Regions from separate parts of the Homo sapiens genome. Here region 1 is linked to region 2. Evidence: promoter capture Hi-C in human tissues and cell types (Jung and others, 2019). All regions are on one chromosome and are shown on one strand. Each heading gives the region's core, a stretch centred on a gene start or on the middle of the fragment in contact. The rest is flanking DNA. Distances are from core to core; before and after follow the strand shown. Region 1 has its middle 22 kb from the start of COX6A1. Region 2 holds the start of PLA2G1B (phospholipase A2 group IB).

Region 1 (3,557 bases), core at 161-2,660, 88 kb before region 2:
GGAAAAAAAAAAGGAAGAAAGAAAAACATTTGGGAGAAAAGAGGAAAAGATGTTATGGAGTTTAAAATATTTCTGGTGGGGAACAGTGGCTCATGCCTGTAATCACAGCACTCTGGGAGGCCTGAGGCAGGAGGATTGCTTGAGTCCAGGAGTTCAAGACCAGCCTGGGCAACATAGTAGGACCCCATCTCTATAAAAATAAATAAGTACCTATAATCCCAGTACTTTGGGAGGCTGAGGTGGGCGAATCACTTGAGGTCAGGAGTTCAAGTCCAGCCTGGCCAACATTGTGAAACCCCGTCTCTACTAAAAATATAAAAATTACCCGGGTGTGGTGGTGGGCACCTGTAATCCCAGCTACTCGGGAGGCTGAGACAGGAGAATCACTTGAACCCAGGAGGTGGAGTCTGCAGTGAGCAGAGATCGCACCACTGCACTCCAGCCTGGGCAACAGAATGAGACTCAGTCTCTAAATAAATAAATTACAAACTATTTCTGACTAGGCACTTTGACCTTATTATGTACCTTCACCCTCCGAATAAACATGTTAAAGTAGAAGCAGGTATCATTATATTCCCTGCCCATTTCACAGATATGGAGACTGAGGGTTGGTGGGGCTGAATGATAGCTAAGAAGTAGCAGAGCTGGGACCTAACCATATCCATGTGCCCCACCTCACTCTCAGCCTCAAACAGATGCAGGCAGATTGCCCACTCACCAGAGCCTCCCCCCTTCCCCAAACCATCTGCCCCTCTGATTGTTTTCTTGGGGCTCTAGAAGTCAGGCCTTTCAGCTCATCTTTACTGCACAGGGATTTCTCCATTGGCCGGTTTCTGCTGCCTGAGACCCTTGCCCAGCCCCAGCCAACACCAGCATGATTCACTTTCTGTTTTTTTGAGATGGAGTTTCCCTCTCGTTGCCCAGGCTGGAGTGCAGTGACGTAATCTCGGCTCACTGCAACCTCTGCCTCCCAGATTCAAGCAATTCTCCTACCTCAGCCTCCCAAATAGCTGGGACTACAGGAGTGCACCACCACACCTGGCTAATTTTGGTACTTTTAGTAGAGACAGGGTTTCGCCATGTTGTCCAGGCTGGTCTCCAACTCCTGACCTCAGGTGATGCACCCTCCTCGGTCTCCCAAAGTGCTGGGATTACAGGTGTGAGCCACCGCGCCCAGCCATGATTCACATTTGAACCTGAGACCAGAGCTCATAAATGCATTAATTCATTAATTTCTCAAACATTCTACATGCTATGGGATAGGTACTTGGGGTACAGAGAGGAGCAAAATGGACATTGGCCCTACTGCAAAGAACCTGAATATTCACGTGGAGTATTTCCCATCACTTTCTAGGCCTAGCCTTGATTTTTGCTGAACCCGGGCCAAGGCAGAGGCACAGGTGCCTCCACAGAGCAGAACCAGACAAATATTGTACACTATAGTCAGTGCAGGGATGGGAACACAACCTGGCTCTGTAAGAGGCCAGAAGAGGCCCTTGATCAATCTGCGGGTGGAAGGGAATCCATGAAGACTTCCTGCAGGTGGTGACCTCTGAGGCTGATTAGGAGGTGTTTGCCATAGTGTTTCATCATTTTCTCATTTTATAGATGGCAAAATGAGTCCAGAGAGAATGACTTAGCCCATGTATTCAATCAATTGAGCAAACATTTCCCTAATATCTACATTCCCCATTATTGAGCCCTGAGCCTGGGGATACAGAGGTGAATAAGGTTAACAGGCCTGCTAGAGGGAATGGTATAGAGAGGCCTCAAGTATCCAGGATACCTCACCAATCACTGCCCATTGGCCTCTGTTTTTTTGTATGTATTTTATTTTATTATTATTATTTTGTAAATTTTGAGACATGGTCTCACTCCGTTGTCCAGGCTGGAGTGCAGTGGTGGAAATATAACTCACTGCAGCCTCAATTCCCTAGCCTCAAGCAATCCTCCCATCTCAGCCTCCCCACTAGCAAGGACTACAGGCATGTGCCACTGTGCCCAGTTAATTTTTTTTTTTTTTTTGGTAGAGATAGGATCTTGCCATGTTGCCCAGGCTGGTCTTGAACTCCTGAGATCAAGAGCTCCTCCCACCTCGGCTTCCAAAGTGCTGGGATTACAGACGTGAGCCACCACACCTGGCCTATTTTATTTTACCTTTTTAAAAGTCAGGATTGGCCGGGCACGGTGGCTCACACCTGTAATCCCAGTACTCTGGGAGGCCGAGGCAGGTGAATCACCTGAGGTCAGGAGATTGAGACCAGCCTGCCCAATATGGCAAAACCCCATCTCTACTAAAAAATACAAAAATTAGCTGGGCATGGTGGTGCACACCTGTAGTCCCAGCTACTCAGGAGGCTGAGGTAGGAGAATTGCTTGAACCTGGGAGGTGGAGGTTGTAGTGAGCTCAGACCGTGCCACTGTAGTCTAGCCTGGGCAACAGAGCGAGACTCTTTCTCAAAAATAAATACATAAATAAAATTAAAAATGATAAAAGTCATGGTTATTGCAGTATACATACAGTAAAATTCTCCCTTTTTAGTACATATGTGGCAAATGCATAGTCCTGTAATCATCATCACAATCAAGACACAAAGACACAGGTCATCATTTGAATCTTTTTTTTTTTTTTTGAGTCGGAACCTTGCCCTTTTACCGAGGCTGGAGTGCAGTGGCGTGATCTTGGCTCACTGCAACCTCTGCTTCCCAGGTTCAAGCAATTATCCTGCCTCAGCCTCCGGAGTAGCAGGGACCACAGGCACGCACCACCACGCTCAGCTAATTTTTGTATTTTTAGTGGAGACAGGGTTTCACCATGTTGGACAGACTGGTCTTGAACTCCTGACCTCAGGTGATCCACCCACCTCAGCCTCCCAAAGTGCTGGGATTATAGGTGTAAGCCACCGCGCCCGGCCCATCATTTGAATCTTATGTTCATCCCACTTCCTGAGTCCAAGCCTTCCCCTTAATTCACTGTGTTATCTTGGGCAACTCTTGCCCTCTTTGAACCTCAGTTTCTTCATCTTTAAAATGGGAACCATAAAACCACCCTTACAGGATTGCTGTGAGGATGGTTGCCTGGCACACAGTAAGCGCTCAATTAACACCAGCTTTTATTCACACTCCTTCCCTTTTCTAGCCCTTTCAAACTCCCCCTCTCCCTCTGGTCTCTCTCCTTCTGGGTCTGTCTCTCCCTCTCACAGACACACACACAAACACACTCCCTCTGGGACACACACACACACTCTGGGACACACACAGGGACACACACACACACACACTCCCTCTGGGGGACAGACACACACACACACACACACACACATTTTGAAGCCTCTTGTTTCCCAGAGAGGTTTTATTTATAGGCTGTGCCTCATTGTGAATGTGAAAAGGAGAAAGCCCAGGCCCTCCGTAGACCTTTCATGTGTAAATCAGCCCGGGCCTGGAGCACGGGGTCACCAGGAGGAGGATTTCACTCTTAATTACTCCTAGAGAAAGCGGGCGGGAAGGAGGCCTCTCTGGGAGCCCAGGGCCTCGCCTGGCGCCGGGCCCCTCGCTCC
Region 2 (3,368 bases), core at 409-2,908:
GGTACAGGGTTTCCTTCTGGAGTGATAAAAATGTTCTGGAACCCCATAGAGGTGATGGTTGCACAACACTGTGAAGGTACTAAATGCCCCCGAATTGTTTACTTAAACGTGGTTAATGTTATGTGAATTTCAGCTAAACAATGTTATGTAGATATTTGGCCGGGCGCGGTGGCTCACGCCTGTAATCCCAGCATTTTGGGAGGCCGAGGCAGGTGGATCACGAGGTCAGGAGATCGAGACCATCCTGGCTAATGCGGTGAAACCCCATCTCTACTAAAAATACAAAAAAAAAAATTAACCGGGCGTGGTGGTGGGTGCCTGTAGTCCCAGCTACTTGGGAGGCTGAGGCAGGAGAATGGCATGAACCTGGGAGGCAGAGCTTGCAGTGAGCCAAGATCGCGCCATTGCACTCCAGCCTAGGCAACAGAGCAAGACTCCGTCTCAAAAAATATATATAAATAAATAGATATGTGATGTGACAGGTTTTTTTTTGAGATGGAGTTTTGCTCTTGTTCCCTAGGCTGGAGTGCAATGGCGTGATCTCAGCTCACCGCAACCTCCGCCTCCAGGGTTCAAGCCATTCTCCTGCCTCGGCCTCCGGAGTAGCTGGGATTACAGGCATAAGCCACCATGCCTGGCTAATTTTGTGTTTTTAGTAGAGACAGGGTTATTCCATGTTGGTCAGGCTGGTCTCGAACTCTCCACCTCAGGTGATCTGCCAGCCTCAGCCTCCCAAAGTGCTGGGATTACAGGCATGAGCCACCGTGCCTGGCCTCTGATATGACAGTTCTAATGCCCTTTAGTATTCTATAATTCAGACTCAGGCCTTTGGAATCCAAAGCCCAGGTTTTTCTCACAAACCCACACTGCAGAGCGGAGTGGTGGAAAAAAATAAAACCTCTGCCTTGGAATCAGACAGATCTAAACTGGAGCCCTATTTTGTCATTTGCCAACTGTGTGACCTTGGGCAAGTTACCGCAACTCTCTGAACCTGTCTCTTTATCTGCAAGGTGCACGACTGATGGGACTATTCAACCAGACCCAGTGCACAGATTCAGGCACTTGATAAGACATTGAGGCTGCAGGCAGCGATCTTTTTTCTTTCTTTCTTTTTTTTTTTTTTTTTTTGAAATAGGGTCTCACTCTGCTGCAGAGGCTCAATCACTGTTCATTGCAGCCTTGACCTCCCTGGCTCAAGAGATCCTCCCATCTCAGCCTCCTGAGTTGCTGGGATCACAGGTGCAATCCACCACCACACCTGGTTAACATTTTTTTTTTTAGAGATGAGGTCTCTCTATGTTGCCCAGGCTGCACTTCCTTCTTGTCTCCCTTATCCCAGCGTCCGACTGAACTGACGGCTTTGCTTTCCCCAACCAGCCCGTGAAGCTGGGCTGAGTACAAAGTGGTGGGTATGAGGGTCAAGATTGTAAGATCTGAAAACTCCAGAAACCATCCCTTTGGTTAACAGTTGCTAAGGACAAATGCATAACATATTTTCCAGTGATCCCATGCTGGCAAATCGTCAGGGTCATTCCTGCAACAGACAGATTCAAGGCCAGCCCCAAACTCAGCCAAGAGCAAAGCAAACACTCCAGCCTTATCTGGGCAGGGTTGTGTGGAGACTGACTATAAGACTATACCTGAGACTGGTCATCTCAGTTCTTTTCTCACCTTGACTGCAAGATGAAACTCCTTGTGCTAGCTGTGCTGCTCACAGGTAGGCAAGTCTCCCCGGCTCCACCCGCCTTTCTCTCCCAAGTGAGCTAAGATCTCACTCCTCTGGAATGGGGGCCACAGGCCACAGCAAACAGGGATGGCCAGCCCCGCAGTCTCAATTCGAGGTTCCCAGTGGGGCTTAAGGGCTCCTCTATTGGGGTTCCCTCAAGGCTGGCACTTTTTCAACCTGCAAGTCTGAACTCAGATTGCCTGAGCTAAGAAAGCTTGCCTTTATTTTCTTTTTTCCAGACAGGGTCTTGCTCTATCACCCAGGCTGGAGTTCAGTGGCATGATCATAGCTCACCACAGCTTCCAACTCGTGGGCTCAAGTGATCCTCCCACCTTACTCAACTAAGTAGTTAGGCCAATCTCCCATTTATTTTATTTTATTTTAATTTTTATTTTTATTTTACTTTATTTTATTTTTGAGACGGGGCTCACTCTGTCGCCCAGGCTGGAGTGCGGTGGCGTGATCTCAGATCACTACAACCTCCATCTCCTGGGTTCAAATAATTCTCTTGCCTCAGCCTCTCAAGTAGCTGGGACTTGTAGCTCTCAAGTAGCTGGCACACACCACCATGCCCAGCTAATTTTTTGTGTGTTTTTTTTGGTAGAGACAGGTTTTCACCATGTTGGCCAGGCTGGGTGACCTCCCTTTTAGATTCTCCTCATCCTGCTCTATTCTTCCCCTTTCTAATGCAGTATCCAGTTTCCTTACTTATCACATTTATTATTATTCTTATTATTATTGAGACAGAGTCTTGCTTTGTCGCCAAGGCTGGAGTACAGTGGTGCGATCTCGGCTCACTGCAAGCTCCACCTGCTGGGTTCACGCCATTCTCCCGCCTCAGCCTCCCCAGTAGCTGGGACTAAAGGCGCCTGCCACCACGCCCCGCTAATTTTTTTGTATTTTTAATAAAGACGGGGTTTCATCGTGTTAGCCAGGATGGTCTCGATCTCATGACCTTGTGATCCGCCTGCCTCGGCCTCCCAAAGTGCTGGGATTACAGGCATGAGCCACCGTGCCCGGCCTTATCACATTTATTATTTATTGTTTTTCTCTCCCACTAGGTTGTAAGCTCCATGAGGTTAGAGATTATTATTATTATTATTATTATTATTATTATTATTATTATTATTATATCTGTTCACTGCTGTATCTCTAGCTCCTAGGACAGAGCCTGGCACATAGTAAGTGCTCAATAAATATTCACTGGATAAACAGTGCAGATAGTTTAAAACTATCTGACCTAGGGAGGCTGAGGCAGGAGAATGGCGTGAACCCGGGAAGCAGAGTTTGCAGTGAGCTGAAATCGTGTCACTGCACTCCAACCTGGGCAACAGAGCAAGACTCCATCTCAAAAAAAAAAAAAAAACTATCAGGCCTAGCTGGGTGGCACATGCCTGTAATCCTAGCTGAGGCGGTAGGGTCCCAGAAGAAGAAGAAGAAGAAAAAGAAGAAGATATATATATATATACACACACACAAAGATATAAACTTTATATATATAAAGTTTTCATTAAAAAAAAAAAAAAACCTCTACCCACTTTCACTTTACCAGGTTCCTGGGTCCAACGGTCTTCAGAGGAGGCAGCTGGCAGGGGTCAGGGAGGCAGCGTGGGACCCGAGGGAGCAGGAAGGCAGTGTGTCC

What was found. The method cuts DNA at HindIII sites, captures the fragments that hold promoters and counts their contacts. A contact is called where the count stands out against the background at its distance.
Region 1: a contact is called between a fragment that was not itself captured here and the fragment with the promoter of PLA2G1B in region 2, in 2 of the 25 tissues and cell types used here (IMR-90 fibroblasts and liver).

What each region holds. Positions count from the first base shown.
Region 1 is chr12:120,414,064-120,417,620 of GRCh38, reverse strand. No RefSeq gene overlaps it. Among named protein-coding and RNA genes, the nearest start is that of COX6A1, 22 kb to the left of the region's middle. The HindIII fragment of the contact is 7,166 bases long and covers 1-3,557 here.
Region 2 is chr12:120,326,069-120,329,436 of GRCh38, reverse strand. It overlaps PLA2G1B (phospholipase A2 group IB), which reads left to right and starts at 1,658. Exons shown (of 4, transcript NM_000928.3): 1 at 1,658-1,717. The coding sequence starts at 1,684. The HindIII fragment of the contact is 11,861 bases long and covers 1-3,368 here.